7 separate regions of the Homo sapiens genome follow, and all the other regions are linked to region 2. The links are contacts of gene promoters, found by promoter capture Hi-C in blood cells and fetal thymus (Javierre and others, 2016). All regions are on one chromosome and are shown on one strand. Each heading gives the region's core, a stretch centred on a gene start or on the middle of the fragment in contact. The rest is flanking DNA. Distances are from core to core; before and after follow the strand shown. Region 1 overlaps CAMK1G (calcium/calmodulin dependent protein kinase IG). Region 2 holds the start of UTP25 (UTP25 small subunit processome component). Region 3 overlaps LAMB3 (laminin subunit beta 3). Region 4 overlaps HSD11B1-AS1 (HSD11B1 antisense RNA 1). Region 5 overlaps LAMB3 (laminin subunit beta 3). Region 6 overlaps SYT14 (synaptotagmin 14). Region 7 holds the start of CAMK1G (calcium/calmodulin dependent protein kinase IG).

Region 1 (3,050 bases), core at 125-2,624, 220 kb before region 2:
GGCTCAAAGACACTTCTGTTTATAAAGTACACACACACACACAAATACACACACTTGCACATGCACAGACATACACGCACTCACACACCACTCTGCAATCTCAGCGTGGCTGGACACAACGTGGTTTTTGGCTGATGGGCTGATTACTAAGAAACTTTAACGAGATAACTCAGGCCTAAGCACCTGATTAACTGGGGGCTTATCTGAGGACCTCTAAAGAGAGGTAGCAGGCAGTCAAGGGAGTGAGGTGGAAAGGGCCCCTAGTGGCACTAACAAGTGATCAGGGACCATCAGGCACTACAATGAGGCCAAGCCAACAGGATTAGCACACAGTAATTCAGAAGGCAGGGAGGCAAGGAGATGGGAAGAGTTGGATGTCCCTGAGGAGACACTAAGCCTCCTCAGAGCATAGCTCCAGGACTCAGGCCCCTCAGGGTTAAGAATTCATAGCTCTGTACAAAGAGTGTATTTCCTACAGGCCTTCAGCTACTATAGGAGCGCCCAAAGCCTAAAGACCAAAAGCCAAAGAGCAGGATGAGGTAAATTTTGATCGGAGAAATTCTTTTCCCTCATCACTAGTTGGGCATGGATGGCCACATCTAATGTCATGGGACAGTGGTAAGGGGGACTAGGAGGGTGAGAGGACTGGAACCCCTGGCTCACGGTTGAAATAGTCTGGGAATGCTTATCTCAGAGAAGGCAAGCCCTCCGGAGAGCATTTCACTATCTTTGTATACTTGAAAGGTGCACAGGAAAGGCTGTTATTCTTGTTCTGTGCAGTCCCGATGGGTGGAATTGGTAGCACTGGTAGAAATGACAGGGCATCAGGTTTCAACATAATGTGCAGAAACATTAGGAATATTCCAAAAAACACTCTGTCTTAGGAGGAAGAGTGTTCTCTGACACTTATGTGTTCTAGTACTCACTAGAAAACTTCTAGGCAAAAATAGAGTAGATGGTATTCATGAGATAGAAGTCAGACTTGATCTTTAAGCTCCCCTGGGTCCTAAGATACTCTACCATTTGAGTCTCAAAGCACCCCTAAAGCCCTACCTGTAATTCCAGCTTTATGAAGCCCAATTTCCCAAAATGAGAAGAGAAATCTTGATATAAGTACGGTTAGTCTCACTTGCATGCCTTCTCTTTCCTACTTTGCTTAATTTCTGTGTTACCTCTCTCTTTCATCATGGCTTCCTGTGTCATAGGCCAGGAAGGAAGGTGGCTAAGAAGTGTGTCCACACTAAGGGATTATTGGCTTCTTGTGCAGCCCCAACCAGAAGCATTTACATTTTAAAGGAAATTTTCAGAGAGAGAGGTCAATGCTTGGCCCAAAGAGATGACTGCCTAGTGATATCACTCCAGGTACCCAGAGTGGGTGTTCTGAGACTGGAGTAGTCTGCTGGCAGCCCTTCAATCACAGTTCATGGGGGCCTGCCTGTTCCACTGCAGCTGTGTCCCCCAAGGCTTCAAAGCAAACACCTTCTCATTACTTTGAGTGAAATGAGAACTGAATTCCTGTCTTGATCCTATGCCCACAGTGTTTCTGGTGGGGAGCTCTTTGACCGGATCCTGGAGCGGGGTGTCTACACAGAGAAGGATGCCAGTCTGGTGATCCAGCAGGTCTTGTCGGCAGTGAAATACCTACATGAGAATGGCATCGTCCACAGAGACTTAAAGGTGTCAAGGCGGGAGTCCTGGGTGGGAAACAGATAATGACCCTTAAGGAAGCTGCATGGGTCATGGGACATCTAAGCTCCATAAAGTAAGAGGGTTGGACTAGTGACTCCCAAGGCCCCTTCTGCCCTTAGATTCCTTAAACAGACCTTGGATGAGTGAACAATGGTTACTAATTTGCACCTCAATTTTTCCTGAAACTTTCACTATGCCTTACCCTATTTCAATACCAAAATAATACACACATTTCTTACATCCAGCCACAGTCAAAACCCAATGCAACAAAATATTTACTGAGGGCCTACATTGTACTAGGCCTTGCACTGGACTCTGGAGAGATCAGACACCATTAACCAAAGATTGGTTCTCTCAAAACACAAACAGGGTAGTTGGAAGTGAGGGAAGGAAAGGGTGAGTATATTAATGTTTACAAGACCGAGCAAAGTCAGAGCCATAAGCAAGGTGCAGACTACTGGGGTGCAGGTGTGAGGGTGCAGGTAGGAGGAAGAAGGGAAGAATGGGGGAGGATGAGCTGGCCTTGAAGTCAGGAGCCCAGGGCTCATCTTCCTGTGAAATTTTGTATCAAGGGGAAGGAAAATACTTGCTTCAGGTGGTTATATCCTACACTACATATTTTTTCTCCTACAGCCCGAAAACCTGCTTTACCTTACCCCTGAAGAGAACTCTAAGATCATGATCACTGACTTTGGTCTGTCCAAGATGGAACAGAATGGCATCATGTCCACTGCCTGTGGGACCCCAGGCTACGTGGGTAAGTCTGGGAGCAGGAGGAAGGTTGACCAGTTGGCTACATTCAACCACATGCCTATCATTCATAGAAAGGGGTGATTCTGAGAACATAGGGTTCAACTTCAGGGGCTATCCTGGTAGGACATCCACTTATAAAGTTTAGGGCCAGCCAATTCATCCGTCTCAGGATCTATCTCTACTGCTCCCAAATTCTACATTTTTAAAGACCGCCTACCCCTGAGCCCTCCAGAGTCCCTGCCTATGCTTTGGCTCTCATTTCTGCGGATAGACTTCCAGCCTTTGTCTTTCCAGCTGGACCAGGGGCAGACAAGATCACAAACCCAGAGATCAGCAGAGAGCTGAGGGGTTGAGCACCAACCCTACTCCTTTCTCCCACTCTGAAGGAGACATTAGCCCCCAGTTCTTGGGAGCCTGGAAGCACAGGATATTGAATTTGGGCCTGAGGAACCCAGAAATGGGCTCCTAAATGTCCACCCAAGGAAGCACTCTGGGAAATTGGCAAAGGTGGAGCTTCCTGCTTGAACATCCCTGTAGGTTTCCAGGGCCCCCAAAAAGAGTGAGAGCAGGCAGGGCACCTGGAAGAGTATTCCTGGGATCTACAGGAG
Region 2 (3,365 bases), core at 230-2,729:
GGAAAACCCAAATTTCCCACAGTAGCACTCCAATAGCAGAGCTATTATTTTGCTTCTCATTTCTCTCATTTTGGACGCTCCTGTTTTACCGTAAATATTCAAGTGAATTCTGCGGCTTATGATTTAAGCACTCTGTTTCTATAGAACATGGTAGCATAAGTTACTATTAGGAAAAGGATCTCACCATCTTTATCCTGTGGTCTCAAGCAGCCCTGCACACTTGCAAATCCCTAGAATACTGAGTCTACTTTTATATTTTTGCTTTTTCCTGTTTATTTAGGTGTTATTTAAATACATTAAAATTCACCCATTTTAACTGTACAGTTTAACTTTTCTTATGTATACAAGGTGTAACTACTAGCATGATCAAAATGTAAGATGGTTCCTTTACCTTCAAAAGCTTTTCCATCCCCTTTTGTCCGAGTTCAGTTATGAGACACTGGATTGGGTTTCACAGCCTTTTCTAGCATTGACTGGGGTGATTTCAGTAAAGTCACTTTACCTCTCTAGATGTGTTTCTGCTGTTGTTAAATGGGGAATGCTGGAACAGATTTGTTTGCGGGGACTCTTCCAATACTTTCAGAAAATGCGAGAATAGGGTGAGGGTGGGAATCTCAGACTTGTGGGCCCCATGATTGATATAACACACACAGGCGGCAGACCCTAATGGGTAAAAGCATGTGGTTGCATCAGTTAAGGTTTTTCTCTCTTCTCTTGCTAGCGTGTTATCTTTTCTTTTCTTTTCTTCTTTTTTTTTTTTTTCGAGATGGAGTCTAGCTTTTGTCGCCCAGGCTGGAGTAGGCTGGAGTGCAGTGGAGTGATCTCGGCTCATTGCAACCTCCACCTCCCGGGTTCCAGCGATTCTCCTGCCTCACCTCCTGAGTAGCTGGGATTACAGGCGCCCGCTACCACGCCCGGCTGATTTTTGTACTTTTAGTAGAGACGGGGTTTCACCATGTTTGGCCATGCTGGTCTCGAACTCCTGACCTCAGGTGATCCGCCCATCTCGGCCTCCCAAAGTGTTGAGATTACAGGCGTGAGCCACCGCGCCCGGCCGCTAGCGTGTTATCTTTTCTAAGCATCAGTTTCCTTATCTGCAACACCAGGCTTATTAACAAGACCTATCTGTACACTGTTGTGGTGATGAAGTGAGATGTTCAGGCACCCTTAAATGTTGGTTGATATTTTTATTGCAGTATACTGTAAAGTCACTGCATTCGACTATCTCCGCTACTACACATTTACGCAGACTGATTTCCATAACCAAAACACAAGCACAAAGCTCATGCCCCCGACTCACGCAACCCGGGAAGCCCAGCTGCCCACGTTCTAGGGCTCTGAGAACACTAGTGAACGAACTCCCGTGCTTTCAAAGAGCTGCGGTAGGGGGCAGAACCGGGAACCGGATGTTCTAAGCCTGTCGTACGAGCGCGACGTAAAGCGGATCTGCTTTATGGCACCTTGCTTTCGCCGTAAAGCGCAGTCAGCGAGCCCACGTGCTTGTGTTGACTGGACAACTTCCTGGTGGAAAACCGCGACTCTTGCAAGTGGGCAAACTTGACGTTTTCGCTATGGGCAAACGCGGGAGCCGGAGCCAGAGCCAGCTACTCAACACCCTAACTAAAAAGCAGAAGAAACATCTTCGAGATTTCGGCGAGGAGCATCCCTTCTATGACAGGTCTGAAGGGGCGTGGCAGGGCTCCCCAGTCGCCAGAGATGTATCCTCGAGTTTGGTCCTCTGGTCTCCCAGATAGTGCTGCTCCGGCCTTTTCCCACTATTCCCTGGCTCCCGCTGTGCTCGGCCGGGGAGATTCTGGCGCCATCCCGCCGGGAGATGGAGTGCTTCACGGGCCTTTTTGTTGAGCCTGTAATTTCCTGCTAAGAGGCACGCCCGTTGTGTGGGGGAGGATTTTTTTTTTTTTTTTAAGACGGTGTTTCGCTCTGTCGCCCAGGCTGGAGTGCAATGGCGCGATCTTGGCTCACTGCAACCTCTGTCTCCTCCCGGGTTCAAGCGATGCTCCTGCCTCAGCCTCCCGTGTAGCTGGGATTACAGGCGCCCGCCACCAAGCCCGGCTGATTTTTTGTATTTTTAGTAGAGATGGGGTTTCACCATGTTGGCCAGGCTGGTCTTGAACTCCTGACCTCAGGTGATCCACCCACCTCGGCCTCCCAAAGTGCTGGGATTACAGGCGTGAGCCACCGCGCCCAGCTATGGGGGCGGATTTTTGTGTGGTCAGAGATCTAGGAATTTTTTGTAGACACACATATATATATGTATATATATAATTTTTTTTTTTTAAGACAGAGTCTCGCTTTGTCGCCCAGGCTGGAGTGCAGTGGCGCGATCTCAGCTCACTGCAACCTCCGTCTCCCGGGCTTAAGCGATTCTCCTGCCTCAGCTTCCCGTGTAGCTGGGATTACAGGCGCCCGCCATCACACCCGATCAATTTTTTGTATTTTTAGTTGAGACGGGGTTTCACCATGTTAGCTAGGGTGGTCTCGAACTACTGACCTCGGGTGATCTGCCCGCCTTGGCCTCCCAAAGTGCTGGAATTACAGGCGTGAACCACCGCGCTTGGCCTGTTTTTATAATTATTTTTAACTTACATAAAATGATTGTACATATTTGTGGGATACAGTGTGATATTTTGATAACAATACATGTACCCAATGTGTAATGATCAAATCCGGGTAATTAGCATATTCATCATCTCAAACATCAATTCTTTGCGTTGGGAACATTGAAAATCCGCTCTTCTAGCCATTTGAAAATATACAATAAATTGTTAGTTATAGTCACATCATATGTTGTGTGTGTTTTTAAAGAATTTGTTGGGACATCATTGATCTTTGCAATTACGATAAGGAACTAAGTGTATTAGTAGTTGTGGTTTCTCTAGAAATGTCTAGGTGCAGTTATGATCTCAATGCTCATCCCACTACTTTGGGCTGCTTTGTCATCAGTTAGGGACATTCTTTTTTTCTTTTCTTTTCTTTTTTCTTTTTTTTGAGGCAGGGTCTCACTTCGTTGCCCAGGTTGGAATCCAGTGCTGCAATCCTGGCTCACTGCAGCCACCACCTCCTGGGCTCAAGCGGTCCTCCTGCCTCAGCCTTCCCAGTAGCCGAGACTACAGGTGCACAACACAACTCCGGGCTAATTTTTCTTATTTTTTTGTAGAGACAGGGTCTCCGTATGTTACCCAGGTTGGTCTCAAACTCCTGGGCTCAAGTGATTCTCCCACCTTGGCCTCCTAAAGTGCTGGGATTCCAGATATGAGCCACCGCTCCCAGCTTAGAGGGACATTCTAATTAAGAAATTTGCTAGAAAAACATGAACCCCGAAATCTTTTATTTAGCCAAGTTGT
Region 3 (3,400 bases), core at 465-2,964, 210 kb before region 2:
AGAAAGCCTTCCAGGATGAGCACATCCCCACCTAGATCTTGCCCTTCCTTTACTCTGCACCACTTCAGCTGCATCCTCAGGGTCAATCGGTATGACATTCAGTCGCAGAGCCTTCTGGGTCTCAGGATGGGCTCAGTAAATATTTACTGCTTTGAGCAAAAGCATGGGAGGAGTTGAGACTGCAAATCAAATTAAACTCAGTCCCTGCCTTTATGGAGCTGGAAATCTAATGGGAGACAGGCACATGAACAAGGAAGTACAGCTTTGAGTGAGCGGAGTAAACACAGGTGCTATGATGGCCATGGAAGGGGCCCCCAGCGCCATCTGATAGGTCCAGGGAGGCTGCCTGGAGAGTGGGATGCCTAGATTCCTAGAGGATGAGCAGGAGCTAGACAGGTCAGCAGAGGTGGGAGAGGGGAGACGATCCAGAGAGAGGAAAAACATTCGCAAAGGCAAGAGGCAAGAGAAAGTGTGTTTGTGTATGCACACTCGCATGTGTGTATGTATTTGTGTGTCTATGCCGTAAAGCAATAGGGTGTGAATGACAGAGTCAGACAATTAGGCTTGAAGCCTACCTGCACCACTGCCAAGCTAGATGCCTTTAGGCAAGTTGCTTAACCTCTCTGTGCCTAGATTACTTGTGTGCAAAGTGGAAGTAATAAGAGTACTTAGTTCATGTAGTCAGGAATAAATGATGTAATACATGCAAAGCACTTGGAACAGTGCCTGGACTCAGTTAGAACTTAATAAGCCTTAACTATTCATTTTGTCAATTCCATTTGAAGAACTGGGAAAGGCGATGTTTCCTCCTCCCTCCACAGACTTTCCACTCTCCCTCCCACACTGTGACCCTATATCGGACAGCAGCCAGCGCTCAGTGGCTTCTGCACCAGGACTCTGGAGACCAGAGTCCAAGCCCACCGCTACAGAAAATTTTCCTGGGTTTCCCCCTGGGGCCAGGCCTCTCTCAGGCCCTGCTTTTTCTCTCTGACCCTGGACTCATCATAAGACTTGACCTGAGATACAAGTATAAGAGAGAGGACAAAAGGGGCCTGGCAGCTCCCTGTCTGTTCACATGAGCCTCAGCTGCACCCGGCAGGAGAGAATTCCAACTCACCTCCCACCCACTGAGGCCAGAGCCCTGGCTGAGATTAATGCAGGATGAGTGGCCATTCAGCCTCACTGGACTTGACTCAGGGGCAAGAATCCCTTATCCATGAGCCTAAGCCCCACACCTTGACCTCCCCCATCATCCACGTTTGTGGGGCACAATCTCCCTACATCCCCAGGTAATATTTTCCCCAGGTGAGTGCCTCAAGGCCTTATGCAAGTCATGAGACCTCAGAAGAACTTTCCTGCCCCTCTCTGACCTGCCACCTGCACTCAGGAGGGGACTTCGGCCTATCTGGGGCAAAAACACTGTAATAGTAGCAAGAGGAGCCACTGTCATTACACCAAGCCCTGGGCTCGTATTAACTGGGCTCCCAGCCAAGCAAATAACCTGGCAGGAACCAGAAATCTAACAATATCAACTCTTGTTCCTGAGGCACTTTTCCTTTTTCAAAACACATTTTACATCAGTTATTTGATCCTCAGAATAAACTTGTGAAATACTACCGTCCCCATTTATAGAAGCAAAAGATGAGGCAAAGAGAAAAGCAGCCTGCCCAATGTCACACGAGTCTCCCGGGTCCTGTTTAGGGATCTTTCCATTGTACAGCCCTTCCTCACTCCCCAGAGCAGTGAGGAAGGGTGTCTGGTTCATTTATTCATGCCACCAATGTCAGATGTCTTTCTGTGTCTGGCCTTATGTTAGGTGCTGGTGACACAGTAGTCAACAAGACAGACAACCATCCTTGCCCTCCTGGAGTCCCCATTCTAGTGGAGTGACAATCCACTTGTTGACAACTGAATGAGGGTGAGTAGTGCAAGGAAAGTAAGATGATGGGGGACAAACAGATCGGATGGTCAGGAAACACCTCTCTGGGGAGATGACCCAGAGGACAAGAAGCAGCAGCCCTGGAAAGAGGACTTCAGGCAGACAAAGAGCAAATAAACATCCCTGAAGCAGGCAAGAGCCTGACATGTTCAAGGACAGCCAGTGAACAAAGCAGAGAAGAGCCCAAGGTCACTCCCAAGAGATGGACAGAGGCCAGGCTCTGTAGCCACGATGGGAGTTGAGAGCTCATTCCAAGAACAAGGTGAAGCCACTGAAGGATTTTAAGCAGGAGTGAGATGTGATCTGACTTATGCATTTTAAAAGAGATATTTCAGCTGTTGTGTTGAGAATGAGAATGGGTCACAAGGGATTGGAGTGGGTGGGGAGGGCAGACGGGAGAACGAGAAGGTCATGGCCATGGTGCCAAGGAGAAGTGGAGGCCTGGATGTTGCAGGCCTGGGACTAGGGAGGGAGGGCTGGCTGATGCACTGAACATGGGAATGCGGGACAGGCAGGACTGGAACAGCAGCCAAGGTGGGGTGGAGACTGGGCTCACCTGTTAGGAAGTCCCGGACCTGCTGGATTAGGAGCCGTGTGCGTCTGACATCTTCCTCCATCTGGGAGCGGCTGGCGCTCACCTGGGTCTCCAAGCGCTGGGCACTGGATTGAATCTGTGAGGCAGATTCCTCGGCTGCCCTAATCTGTTGACATACACTCTAGGTCAGAAGGGGTAAGGCCCCAAGGGAACCTCTCAGCAGCCCCACGATTCTGCGGATCATCCTCTATGCCAAGACCTACCTAGGAAGCATTTGTAACCAACCCAGCTTACATGTGGATGTTCAGTAAAAGAGAAAAAAAACTATCTTGCACTTGCTGTGGCACCTTAAGCAGGTCACCTAAAATCTCTGGACTTTAGTGTAAAATGGGAACTCTGACTTGCCCGGGGGATCTATCCTGTCTGCCTCCTCCTACCTGTGCCCACCCCGCCTCGGCTGCACTTACCATCTGCCTGGTCCGCTGGAGCTGGGCATTGAAGCCCCGCAGCTGCTCAGCCACCTGCCCCGCCATCAAGAAGGCCCCACCGGCCCTGGGAAGGACACCCCTGCAGCGGGAGCCACAGGCTGTGCCATTGTCTTGGGGACATAGCTCACCAGGGCATGATATTGGGGTGCAAGCCATCTGCCTGGAGTTGCCACAGAGCTGTGGACAGATGGCGGTGTTAAAGAGGCTACCCAAAGCCCCTCAATAACCAATCCCACCCCACACCTGGGAAACCAACAGCCAGACATCTCCATGACAACCAAGCACCAGAAACAGCCAGACATCTCCATGAGAGCTAAGGACCAGAAACTGGTTTCCTTGGCAACCACTGAGCTCACAGTGAGCAGTACAAGGGTCGGGATGGCTGGGGGAGTGGGGTTCTCACAGGGGCAGATCTGCCCTAATAGGAAGCAGGTGGCA
Region 4 (3,108 bases), core at 359-2,858, 160 kb before region 2:
GTGAGCCACAAGTCTTGGTGATTTTTCACATTGGAGAGGTGATGGAGAGCAAGGAGGAAAAGATGGCTCCTTGACTTCAAACCTGAGCTGCTAGGTGAATGGTGCAGCTTAGGTTAAGAAAGATGGTTACAAGTTTATGGGGTAGAAATATTGAATTTGGCTTTAGACACAGTAATTCTGATACCTGCAAGACATCCAAGTCAAAATGTAGAATAGGTAGAGGGATACACAGGTCTAGAGCTCAGACTTGTAGGTCATCTGTGTAGAAGCAGCAATGGAAGCCCTGGCAGTAAATTAAATCACTGAAGAGAGCATGTGGAATAAGAAAAGGGGCTCCAGGACTGAGTCCTGAGAAATGCTGACATTTGTAGGTTAGATAAAGAGGACAATTGAGATAAAGATCCTGAGTTTTGTCCAGAATAGGGTAAGAGGAAAACCAGCAGAATATGGTATCGTGGAAGCAAAGGAGAAATGTGTTTCTAGAAGGGAGTGGTCAGCAATTCCTAGGCATGGGATGAATAAGTGATTATTGATACAACTGCTTATTATCTGGCTCCTACTTACTGCTTCCTGCTCATTTTCTGCCATTTCCCAAAATCCATCCTTTATGATTTAACACCAACTTGTCTAACTTCTCTTGGACCATGTGATGCTTTATCTTTCATCCTCCCTTTTCACATGCAGTCCCATCTCATTCAAGGCCTCCCCATGCCCTGAACAACACCCTGTCCCAGAACCACCTGGTGAACACCATCCATCCTTTAACATCCCAAGCCTCTCAGGAATCATTTACCCTTAGGCCTTCTTTGACTACCTCCTCCCCAAAGGGCATCAATACCTGTCTCATTCTGTGCTTTTTGTTCATCTGGTATAAATTTCTATTACGGTGCCTTTCCCAATATACAATAATAACTCGTTTACAGTCTGTGTCCTCTACTTCACTATAAGCTTCTTGAGGGCAAATGCAGTTTGTATTCTGCATTTTTTTTTTTTTTTTGAAACAGAGTCTTGCTCTGTCACCAGGCTGGAGTACAGAGGCATGATCTCGGCTCACTGCAACCTCCACCTCCTGGGTTCAAGTGATTCTCCTGCTTCAGCCTCCCATGTAACTGGGATTACAGGCATGTGCCACCACACCCGGCTAATTTTTGTATTTTTAGTAGAGACAGGGTTTCATCATGTTGCCCAGGATGGTCTTGATCTCCCAGCCTCCTGATCCGCCCGTCTTGTCCTCCCAAAGTGCTGGGATTACAGGTGTGAGCCATCACACATTCTGCTTCCTATAACTATGCTTAACACAGTGTCAGGTACATGGCTGGCTTCAACAAATATTTTTGGACCTTACTAGAAGCTACCTAAATGTCACCTAAGGAATGCAAATGTCCCGGGCTGGGATAAAGCATCATGGAAATTGCCGACGTAGAGCAAGAGGCAAAGACAATTGAATAATAACAGCCATCATTTAATGATTGCTTCATTTGTGCCAGAAACTGCCTAAGTCCCTTACAGAGCTCTATCTCATTCACTCTTCATCATATCTGTTTCATAGGGGCTTATCATCATCACCACACCCCATTTAATAGGGGCTATCATAACTCTCACTTCACAGATACGGAAGTAGAAGTTATAGAAGTTAAGTCACTTGCCCAAGGTCAGGCCTTAGCAAATGGAGGAGTCAGGATTTGGAGGAACCCAGGTTTGCTTGACTTTAGAGCCCTATACCCTTAAGACCAATTGGCATTTGAGCTTGGGGAAAATTCCTTGTGCTGACTCAAACTTGTAAAGTATATTGTTTAATCTGGAAGTGGTATGTAGGCAGCAGGGTGCAGGTAATTCTAACCACACCACCCATGGCTATTCAAGGCTTCCAGCACAGTCTGCATGCCCCAGCAGCTGGTGGCTCTGCTTGACCAAAAGTTATGAAGGACAAAAGCAGAATGCCTATAAAGTCTGTTCCTTTGCCTTGATTTGTACCACGGGCAGGCTGGAGGGTGCCCAGAGTGAGCCAATGGCTACAATGTCAGACACTAAGTTGGGAGTGGAAGTGAAAGGTGAGGAGACCAGAGTGGAGGAAACTAAGCCAAGTTGCCAGGTCTTGGGCAATTTCAACACCAAGGCTCTGAGCCAAGGACAGGCTACTGTGCTTGAAATAACTTCCCAAGAGAGCCTTAACTGGTCACTTTGCCCTCTCTATCTCAGCACTGACTTTTAGGTCAATGTAACTAATATTGATTAGCCTCCTATTCTATGTTAACACCATGAAAGATACAAAGCTTTTGTCTTCCACAGAGCTGAGGCAAGCCCACAGGAAACAATGACAGAGTTGTACAAAACGGTAATCCATCCAGTGCCAGCCTGTAGAGTACAAGCCCCAAAGGCAACTGAAATTCACAGAAAGGAGAGATCAAGGTGTGCTGCCATGGGCAGTGGTAGCTTCTTGGAGCACAGGAAATTGAACTTGACCTCAAGGAAGAAAGGAAGACAAAGTAGAAAGAGGACAGCATTTCAGGTAGAAACAACTGTGTGAGCAAAAATAAATGAAGCAGCAGCAATGCGAATGAATTGTTTCTTGGCCTGTGAAGAAACCTCTCTGTGGAGCAAAGGGCTATTGTGGGAGAAGAACAGGAGAAGATCGGACCATAGAGAGCCTGAATTCCAAGAATACTAAATCAAGCAAATTCAACATGCAGGATCCAGGAGTCCATTATGTGGGCAATGAGAAATGATCTTGGCCTTTAAACAGGCAGTTGACAATAAAAAATTAAATTTTAGGAAGATTCATTTGGTGGTAGTGTTTAAGATGGATTAGAGGAGAAAGGATTAAAAGCAAAAAAACTGTCCCCTCAAAAACCTGAATGCTTCTTTAAGCATCTACTAAAAGTTGGACTGCATTCAAAAACAAACAAACAAACAAACAAAAAACAGTCCCTTCCCTGCCAGGCTTCACAGTCCATGGAAAAGCCATTCATTAATCCCATAGTTACCCATTAAGGACCTATTATGTGCTAAGAATTATACTGGGCACTGGGGACACAGTGAGGAGCAAACCAAAGTCCCTATCCTCATGAAGCCTATCCTCCAACGCACATGGAAGACAATATAAAACCA
Region 5 (3,169 bases), core at 346-2,845, 190 kb before region 2:
ACTGACTTCCCCACGTATGGTGAAAGCAGCTTGAAGACTGTGATTTGGTTTTATTCATCTTTATATCCCTAACATCTGACACCAAGCCTAATGAGTAATCAGTGTTCAATAAGCGCTCACAAATAAATGACAAATAAATGAACAGGTGAGCGATGATAAAGTGAGGAGACTATTTAACACTGTCTATCAAATGAATATGCTGCCCTTCAAAGTTGCCACCTTTAGAGACTGGGCATTTATTCAAACAATGCTGGCATTTCTCAAAATATTTTTGACCTTTAGATGGGGCAAGGCTCTTAGAGCCAACTTCTTCAGTCATGTAAGAAATTAGGTCCTATTACTTTTTATTCCAAGCTCATTTTAACTCCTGAAAATTATATCTCCCTTCCTAATCCTTTAATCTTATTAACCAAATTTGATCATTGAATATCTGACTATTTCTGTAGAAAGAATAAAACCAAATCATCTCTGAAAAGAAAAAATTGACCTATGGCAATTAAATGAAAATGTTTCCTCCAAAAGAAGTATCTAGAAGGATGTTCTAAAGGCAGAATCTGAAAGTGCTTTGAGAAGTAATGGCGCTGAATGAGTAGATTGCCCACCAAGAGAGCTGCACCAAAGGAATATCCATCAGTTAGTTGGATAGGCAAGTTCTTGGCTGCTTGTTAAAGTCAATCTAATATGCAAAGTTATTAAAACAGAGTATACCAAGAATACACAACTGTACAACAAGCAACCGGGCCCAGTAGAATTGGTACTTGGCAGAGCTGAATTAATTAGATGGGTTGAGGGTGGAGAATGAGAGAGGAAGAGGATATGCAACCACTGCACGGCCAAGACAGGGAGCCAGGAGGTGCCACTTTTAGCCCAGGAGCGAGTCCTCTTCTGTCACCATGATATAGGCTCATGGTGAGTGTTGCCCCAACCCAGAGAGACAAGGACACTGTGCTCCTCCATGGCTCCACGCCCACATGGCCCAGGAGCCCCTCTCCTATCCACTGCCACCCCCAGGAGGCACACCTGGAACTCCATCATGACTTCTTGAAGCTGGAATCTCCTGTCCAGGTCCAGCTGCAGAGAGACAGGGTTCACATCTGGAAGGACAAAAAATAGAAACTGTCATCCAGAGACTGTCCACTTCCCCAGCCCTGAAGGAAGCCCTGGATTAGACTAGCTCTAGGAACTCAGAAACTCTCTAACCTTGATTTTCCAAACTCCCTCTTGGAGAGGAGTGGGGAGTGGTATGTTTCTGCTTATATTATCTATTCAAGATCCTATCTGTTTTTGGCTAAGTTTCCTTCCCACCATCACCTGATGTCTTCAATACTTTGGAGGGCTTCAACTTGTCTGTTCCACACAGACTTGTTCCCCAAACTTAATTCTGCAAGCCCACCCACTGAGACTGAGTGGAGGGAAATAAAGACATTCCTCTCTCCTCACACCCTTTCTTTCACCTCCAATAAATTCTTCTACCATAACATCCAACAGACCCCAAATATGAGGCAGAAAGATTCTTCTTATCAATCACCCATGTCACACCACCATAAGAAATGCCTGGGAAACCCAAAGGGTTATAGGGCACCTTCCATCCGTCTTATCCTGTGGAGGCTGTACAGTTTGAGTTCCCGTAGATGGCAAATGCTCACCATTCTGTGACTGCCACCAGCGCATGGGGCCGGAGGATGAAGCCACATTCTCTACTCGGTGACTGTAGTAGTTGTGAGGCTGCCTGGAGTCACACTTGCAGCATTTCATCTGCCACTGTGGGAGAGGGAGATAGCAGACACTCAGAGGTGGGGTCCTGATAGAATTCCCCCTTGCGTCCTGAGATCCCAGCATATCTCCTCTGTGGAAATCCTGCCCTTAGGAATCACTAATTTTATTAATACAATTTGAAGGGTTAATCTCTTAAAACACAGCTATTGATCACCTTTTAATTGGTCATCTTTTAATTCCTTGGTGCCCCTCCTAACACATAGCAAGTGAATGGTGAATAGATGTGTGAACGGAGAAGAGGTACGAGGTGGGAAAAAATACTTGAGTATATGATATTGCCTTGCAGAGAAACTTGAGAAAAGTGCCGAGAAAAAAAAAAGGGGGGCGGGGGGAGAAATTCATATTATTTGAGCATCTACGACATACTGGGCACAGGCTGGAAAGTTTTATAGTTTACCTCATTTAATCCTGGCAGCCTGGGAAATTCTGGGGTTTTAAGGATCAGAGAGAGAGGACTCCAAAAGAGGACAAGGAAATGTGGAGTTACAGTCCTAGCTCTGTCACCTCTACTTCCTAGGCTTAACTTTCTCCTCCATAAATTAAGTGGGGATTGAGCTAGAGCTTTTCATTTACCCAGCAAATGCTTATTTAGCATATACTATGTGCCAGACTCTACTCTGGGCTCTGGAGTTACAATAGGGAACAAAACAAAGGCCCTGCCCTCAGGGACCCAAAATTCTAGTGACATTCAAATGATCTCTAAGGCCTTCCAGCAGTGACATCTGGGGCGTGAGGATCTTTCTCAGGTTCGGTATTCCCTACCTACAGGAGAGCAACCGGCCTCACTGGGGAGGTCACCAATAACCTGGCCTACGCTTATCTCTTGGAATGAGACAGGAGCCAGAACTGAACCCCATAGGTTTCATGGCAGAGCAAGGATCACCAAGAAAAAGAGCATGGCCAGAGAGGCGATATATCCCTTGTTCTTTTAGCTTGTGCCTATGTGCATACATATACACATACACACACACACACACACGCACACGCGTGCACATGCGCACACGCACACACACACACACAGATAACACGACCTTTTCCCAGCTCCCCCATATAACATACATAAAATCTGCTTTCTCTGAGTAGCCATGATCCCAAACCCTGTGCGCAGCTTAAACCATACTGTCCAGAGGGCTCCAGATTTACCCACAAATAGATGCAAGTCTTGGACAAGAAACTCCTGGACCTGCAGGTCCTTCTGGGTAGGGAAAACTGTCCCTCCACACACCCTGTACCGCTGCTTTCCTCTAAGCCTCCACTCACCAGAACAAAGAACCGACCCAAAGAGTCTGAGTGGATATATGGGGCCTATGCCTTGAGTGATAGAACCTCCCTGCCCAACACCCATCTTCCCTCTCCAAAGCTGGCACAGCCTGCAACAGGAGAGAGCAAAGAG
Region 6 (3,143 bases), core at 587-3,086, 170 kb after region 2:
GTCAGTGCTAGAACTCTGGCAATTCAAAAAGCCAAAGTGTCCCCCTACCTCCAAATGAATCTACTAGTTCCCCAGCAATGGTTCTTAACCAGTTTGAAATGACTGAAATAACAGTCATAGAATTCAGAATCTGGATAGAAGGGATGCTCATTGAGATTCAGGAGATAGTTGAAACACAATCTAAGGAATCCAGTAAGATGATCAAGGAGCTGAAAGAGGAAATAACCATTTTAAGAAAGAACCAACTGAACTTCTAGACCTGAAGAACTCACTACAAAAATTTTATAATACAATCAGAAGTATTAACAGCAGAATAGAACAAACTGAGGAAAGAATCTTAGACTTTGAAGATTGTTTCTTCAAGGCAACTCAGACAAAAACGAAGAAAAAAGAATTTTTTAAAACTGAAAAAAACCTCTGAGAAATATGGGATTATGTAAAGTGATTAAATCTAAGACTCATTGGCATTCCTGAGAGAGAAGGAGAGAGAAAAATAACTTGGAAAATATACTTGAGGATATAATCCATGAAAATTTCCCTAATCTTGCTAGAGGTTGACATGTTAATCCAATAAATACAGAGAACACCAGCTAGATACTATAGACAGGAACCGTCACCAAAGCACATAGCCATCAGATTCACCAAGGTCAACATTAAAGAAAAAATCTTAAAGGCAGCTAGAAAGAAGGGTCAAGTCACATACAGAGGGAACCTCATTAGGTTAGCAGCAGACCTCTCAGTAGAAACCTCACTAGCCAGAAGAAATTGGGGGCCTATTTTCAACATCCATAGAGAAAAGGAATTCCAGCTAAGAATTTCATCTCTTACCAAACTAAGCTTCATAAGTGAAAGAGAAATAAAATCTTCATCAGATTTTAAGCAAATGCTGAGGAAATTTGTTTCAACTAGACCAGCCATATAAGAAGTCTTTAAGGGAGTGCTAAACATGGAATCGTAAGAACAATATCTGATACCACAAAAACACACTTAAGTACGTAGCTCACAGGTACTATAAAGCAACTATGCAATCAGTTCTACCTAACAACCAGCTAACAAGATGATGACAAGATGAAAATCATACATATCAATACTAACCTTGAATGTAAATACACTAAAACCCCACTTAAAAGACACAGAGTGGCAAGGTGGATAAAAAGAGAAAGCTCAACCATCTGTTGTCTTCAACAGAACCATCTCACCTCTTGTGACACCTGTAGGCGCAAAGGAAAGGGATGGAGAAAGATATGCAAACAGAAACCAAAAAAAGAGCAGAAGTCACTATTCTTATATCAGATAAAACATATGTTAAGCCAATAAAAATTAAGAACAATGAAGGACATTACATAATGATGAAAAGTACAATCCAACAAGAAGACTTAATTATCCTAAATACATAGACACCAAACATTGGAGCACCCAGATTCATAAAACCAGTTCTTCTTGTCCTACGAAAAGACATATAGACAACCACGTAATAATAGGGTGAGACTTCAACACCCCACTGACAGTGTTAGATCATCAAGGCAGAAAACTAACAATGAAACTCCGGACTTAAACTCAGCATTTGACCAATTGGACCTCATAGACATCTACAGAACACTCCACCCAACAACTACAGAGTATACATTCTTCTCATATGCATACTGAACATATTCTAAGAGCCAGCACCTGCTCAGTCATAAAACAAATCTCAGTAAATTCAAAAAAACTCAAATCATACCAGCCATATTCTCAGACCACAATACAGTAAAAATAGAAATCAGTATAAGGAAGATCTCTCAAAACTGCACAAGTACATGGAAATTAAACAACTTACTCTTGAAACTCCTGTGGGAACGTTGAAATTAAGGCAGAAATAAATTATTTGAAATTAATGAAAATGGAGACACATCTTACTAGAATCTCTGGGATGCAGCTAAAGTAGTTTTAAGAGAACAGTTTATAGCCCTAAATGCCTTCATCAAAAATTTAGAAAGATCTCAAATGAGCAATCTACCCTTGCACCTAAAGGAACTAGAAAAGAAGAAAAAATACCAACCCAAAGCTAGCCGAAGAAAAGAAAGAACTAAAATTAGAGAAGAATTTAATGAAATTGAGCTACAATAATCCATACAAAAGATCAATGAAATCAAGAGTTGGTTCCTTGAAAAATTAAACAAGACTCATAGACTGCTAGCTAGATTAACAAATACAGTTGGAAATGACAAAGATGGCAGTATAACTGATCCCACAGTAATACAAAAGATCCTCGGAGAATGATGTGAACAACTCTAATGCACACAAATTAGAAAATCTAGAGGAAGTGTATAAAATCCTGGAAACATGCAGTCTTCCAAGATTGAATAAGAAAGAGATTGAAATCCTGAACAGATCAATATAAAGATCTGAATTTGAATCAATAATAAAAACTCTACTAACCAAAACAAAAAAGACCTGGACCAGGTGGATTCACAGCCAAATTCTAACAGACACACAGAGAAAAACTGGTGCCAATCCTACTGAAACTATTCCAGGAAATCAAGGAGGAGGGACTCCTCCCTAACTCATTCTACAAAGCCAGCATCACCCTAATACCAAAACCTGGCAAAGACACAACAAAAAAAGAAAACTTCAGGCCAGTATCCTGAACATATTGATGAACATAGACACGAAAATCCTCGGCAAAATACTAGCAAATCTAATTCAGCAGCATATCAAAAAGTTAATTTACGATGATTAAGTAGCCTTCTTTCCTGGGATGCAAGGTTGTTCCAACATACATAAATCAAAAAATGTGATTCACTGCATGAACAGAATCAAAAGCAAAATCCACATGATCATCTCAATCGACACAGAAAAAGCTTTAGATAAAATCCAGTATCCCTTCATGACAAAAACCCTCACCAAACTAGGCATCAAAGGAACATACCTCAAAATAATGAGTCATCTATGCCAGACTCATAGCCAACATCATACTGAGTGGGCAAAAGCTAGAACCTTTCTCCTTGAGAACTGGAACAAGACAAGAATGTCTACTCTTAACACTCTTCTTCAACACAGAACTGAAAGTCCTAGCCAGAGCAATCAGGCAAGGGAAAAATAAAAGGCATCCAGATAGGGAAAAAAAGAAAAAAAAAAGTCAAATGGCTTCTTTTTGCTGACGA
Region 7 (3,229 bases), core at 297-2,796, 240 kb before region 2:
CAGGATAATGGGAACTTATAATTTGATGTTTTTGTTTTTCATTCTTCCGTTCTGTCTTTCCATCACACACATCAATGCAAACACAATTTCACATACACATGCACACAGACTCACACACACACACACCAGGCAAAAATGCACAAGCATTTTTCTGGATAAGACTCATTACTGCACGCTGGGAGGGAGGGTGAGCAGAGCCGAGGAAAGGAAAGAGAGATGCAAGCCACCCTAGCTACTTTTACTCCCCTTTAAGGCTGCGTGGTTACGGTCCTGGGAAAGAAAACTCCTGCATTCCTCCCCTTTAATTGGGTTTATTGTTAAAGCACTGGAGCAGCTAATCCTCACAGACCTGTAGGAGCTGGAGTGGGAGCTCAAGCAGGATTCTTCCCGAGTCCCTGGGTAAGACAACCCTGCTTCTTTTCTTGGCTTTAGAGGGTCTCCTTGCTTAATGGGAAGCGTGCAGCACCTAGTGAGTGGATTTGAAGAGCCACTTTGTAAGCAACTTGGGCATTTATTTCAGCCCCAGTTCCAGTCTTCCCTGACTCTTTTGGCATCAAGGGTGAGTTATAGCTGTCTTGGAAAATAAGTCTGAATGGGGGGTCCGGGTGGAGCTATCTGTCCGTCACTCCTGGGCTGGCTTTCATGGAAGCATTTTGCCCTTCTGGGCAGGGAAAAGGGAGAAAAATATCTTCATGTGCCCCTCCTGCAATGCCTGCATTCTAGGGACAAGGCTCTGTGCCTAGAGGGACCCCGTCCATCTGCTGGGGTGTTAGGACCTCCAACTCTCTTGCACCCCTCCCTCCTGCTCAACCTTCATCTCTTAACCTCTCTGACCCCATCCATCAAATAAAGTATGCCCTCTCTGCCGACCTCTTTGGGTTATTGGGAGGATTAGCAGAACCAATGGCAAAAAGATTTGTAAACAGCCTGTGGCTCTGCAAGCCTAAGGAAGACGAGTCAGCCTCAGTCCCTCCTGGAGGAGTCTGTGGACAGGCTTCAGGCTCCCTATCCTCAGCCGCGTTAAGATGCAGAACGCAGCCGAGCTATCGCTGTCAGTCACAAGACAGCTTCCTTCACCTTCCCCAGGGGCGCGTCTACCTCCCTTCTGTTTTTAAACTTCCCTAGTTTACCTCTCAAGTGAAGATCTTAAAAGGAGGTCTGGATTCACCACCACCACCACCCCCATCCACACCATGGCCCCTTCTCTCCACGTAACTTTGACGCACAAACATTAACCCTGAGGCTCCCGGAGATGGCTGCCAGGGCTCACGCTGGTCTGGCTGCAGTGCTTGTCTGGCCAGCCTCTTGCTCTGGAGTCAGATAAATTGATCATGAGGAAAGCCTCTGAGAAGGGTCAAGAGAGTCAAGCAGATTCCGCCTTAGGTAAGAAGATGATCTTTTCCAGATCATAAGCTGAAGACAGAACAAGGTCCCTGTCATTCCTGCTGACCCAAGCTTAACCAGAACCAAAGATGAGACCCACCTCTGAAACAGGCCGTAACACAGAGTGCTTAGTAATACCTGATATGGGGACCACACTTTACAGTTTATAATGTGTTTATAATTAATCATCTTTAGGACGATCCCATCAGATGGTGTGGCATGTATTATTTCCCCTTTAGTATAGATGAGACCATTGAAGCTTAGAAGTTAAAGGGTTTGCCTGGGGTTGCAAAGCTGGTGATGGTGGTGGCAACTGAACCCAGATCTATTGATAAATTCAGTGAACTTTCCACGATGCTGCAGATTGCTCTGGTGTGTGTGTGTGTGTGGATGCTTATTAAGAGCACTCTTCAGAAAGTACTCTTTGGGAAAGAAGCTTGAGGTTAGAGTGAGAAATGGTTTGAGCTGGAACCATGAGAGGCTTGGGGCAATAGACATGCTGTCCCCAGCCTCCATGCTGAGAAATCTGAGTGCTTTAGGGATTCAGCCCTTTCAAGATTGTCCGAGCCATGTGTTCCCAGGGTAATCAGTCAGACGTTAGGATTGCATTACAGCATCATAAGGATGAAGGTGGAGATGAGTGACATCCCAGCAACTGCCACCAGGAAAGAGGCAACAGGTTATGTGGTACAGTGACGAGAAGACTAGCGTTGGAATCCAATTCAGTTGTATCATTCACTATCTGTTTGATGTGGGGGATTTTTCTGAACATTTCTACTTATCAGTACCTCAGCTGTAAAATGAGGTTACCTGGAAAGGTGGCCGTGGGGCATTAAACAAGATAATGCATGCAAAGTGCCTAGCGCGGTGCCCCACCCAGGTGCGTGGTCCAGGGCAGCGAATACTATAAAGCCTGGGAGCGATTCTACCTGGAAGTGAAAAAGCATCCCCCTCTAAGAGGAGAGCGCCTCCCTCGCTCCCTCTCCCCCATACACACGCACACAGGGCCAGAAATAAATTGCCACACGAGTGCGCGCGAGTGGCGGCGCCCAGCCGCAGCCTGCCAGCGCCAGCGAGTGAATGAGCTGCAGCATGAATGAGGGGAGCGGCTGAGTCTGCAAACAGGCTGCGTGCCTGGCGCTACAACTGCAGGCGCGCCGCCACGGTCAATGGCGAGGGGGTTGGGGCTGAGTGGGAGCGGCTGCCAGCAAGAAAGCAAACTGAAGCAGGCAGGGGACTGCACGGACTATCCAGGATTGTCAAACCCATGTCCTTGGAGGAAAGGCTGGTAACTCAGAGCTTCCTGACACAGCCCTTCGTCCTGAGTTCAGCCTGTCCTTCCTTTTGTACTCTATCCCTGGTAGGGGAAAGATCCTTCCTCTCCCCTTCTGGAAGCCAGAGTAGAGTGCCTAGCTGGGAAGGTTAATAGTAATGAGCGTCCAACCTGTACAAAAGAGGCACCTCTTGCATGGGATTGGGCTTGAAGGCGGTGTGTGACACACAGTCAGCGTTAACCTTGAAAACTCCTTAGAAAAGTGCCCCAGTGGAGACCTGCATATCACCTGTGAAAAAAACCAACAGAAGTATTATTTCCTCTCTTGTTGCAACAGTTCCCTGTTTTCTTGGTTGAGTACCAGATGAAGTAGTTGGCTTGCATTCAGGCTATGATGTACGAAAAATCATATATCTTTAAACACTTTAGAAACACAGTGAGATGAGATGCTCACACTGTGAAAGGCACGTGGGAGCTGGAACCAGCTGAAGAAATAGCAGATTCCTGTCTCCTGTCCTGTGCTCACCCTGTTTAAGTCCTTATTGGTTTCCCTTTCTCTTTCTCCAGTGCTTA

What was found. The method cuts DNA at HindIII sites, captures the fragments that hold promoters and counts their contacts. A CHiCAGO score of 5 or more calls a contact.
Region 1: a fragment that was not itself captured here is called in contact with the fragment with the promoter of UTP25 in region 2 in 5 of 17 cell types (neutrophils, non-activated CD4 T cells, total CD4 T cells and 2 more); the score reaches 12.3 in neutrophils.
Region 3: a contact is called between a fragment that was not itself captured here and the fragment with the promoter of UTP25 in region 2, in 1 of 17 cell types (neutrophils). The highest score is 16.0, in neutrophils.
Region 4: a fragment that was not itself captured here is called in contact with the fragment with the promoter of UTP25 in region 2 in 2 of 17 cell types (neutrophils and non-activated CD4 T cells); the score reaches 6.0 in neutrophils.
Region 5: a contact is called between a fragment that was not itself captured here and the fragment with the promoter of UTP25 in region 2, in 1 of 17 cell types (neutrophils). The highest score is 12.7, in neutrophils.
Region 6: a contact is called between a fragment that was not itself captured here and the fragment with the promoter of UTP25 in region 2, in 1 of 17 cell types (endothelial precursors). The highest score is 5.2, in endothelial precursors.
Region 7: a contact is called between a fragment that was not itself captured here and the fragment with the promoter of UTP25 in region 2, in 8 of 17 cell types (non-activated CD4 T cells, neutrophils, total CD4 T cells and 5 more). The highest score is 14.9, in non-activated CD4 T cells.

Annotation. Positions count from the first base shown.
Region 1 is chr1:209,603,998-209,607,047 of GRCh38, forward strand. CAMK1G (calcium/calmodulin dependent protein kinase IG) reads left to right here. Exons shown (of 13, transcript NM_020439.3): 5 at 1,539-1,677; 6 at 2,323-2,446. Among named protein-coding and RNA genes, the nearest start is that of MIR4260, 18 kb to the right of the region's middle. The HindIII fragment of the contact is 5,493 bases long and covers 1-3,050 here.
Region 2 is chr1:209,826,493-209,829,857 of GRCh38, forward strand. UTP25 (UTP25 small subunit processome component) reads left to right here and starts at 1,480. Exons shown (of 12, transcript NM_014388.7): 1 at 1,480-1,678. The coding sequence starts at 1,572. RefSeq lists an enhancer at 1,520-1,569. The HindIII fragment of the contact is 3,327 bases long and covers 399-3,365 here.
Region 3 is chr1:209,620,041-209,623,440 of GRCh38, forward strand. It overlaps LAMB3 (laminin subunit beta 3), which reads right to left. Exons shown (of 23, transcript NM_000228.3): 17 at 2,942-3,139; 18 at 2,496-2,640. Among named protein-coding and RNA genes, the nearest start is that of MIR4260, 1.8 kb to the right of the region's middle. The HindIII fragment of the contact is 3,615 bases long and covers 1-3,400 here.
Region 4 is chr1:209,668,798-209,671,905 of GRCh38, forward strand. All of the region lies in intron 1 of HSD11B1-AS1 (HSD11B1 antisense RNA 1), which reads right to left. Among named protein-coding and RNA genes, the nearest start is that of G0S2, 5.1 kb to the right of the region's middle. The HindIII fragment of the contact is 1,325 bases long and covers 947-2,271 here.
Region 5 is chr1:209,636,888-209,640,056 of GRCh38, forward strand. It overlaps LAMB3 (laminin subunit beta 3), which reads right to left. Exons shown (of 23, transcript NM_000228.3): 4 at 1,647-1,761; 5 at 1,021-1,094. Among named protein-coding and RNA genes, the nearest start is that of LAMB3, 14 kb to the right of the region's middle. The HindIII fragment of the contact is 6,306 bases long and covers 1-3,169 here.
Region 6 is chr1:209,994,056-209,997,198 of GRCh38, forward strand. All of the region lies in intron 2 of SYT14 (synaptotagmin 14), which reads left to right. Among named protein-coding and RNA genes, the nearest start is that of SYT14, 57 kb to the left of the region's middle. The HindIII fragment of the contact is 2,003 bases long and covers 836-2,838 here.
Region 7 is chr1:209,583,374-209,586,602 of GRCh38, forward strand. CAMK1G (calcium/calmodulin dependent protein kinase IG) reads left to right here and starts at 341. Exons shown (of 13, transcript NM_020439.3): 1 at 341-399. It overlaps LOC107985256 (a long non-coding RNA gene), which reads right to left and starts at 2,992. Exons shown (of 3, transcript XR_001738443.2): 1 at 2,828-2,992. The HindIII fragment of the contact is 187 bases long and covers 1,454-1,640 here.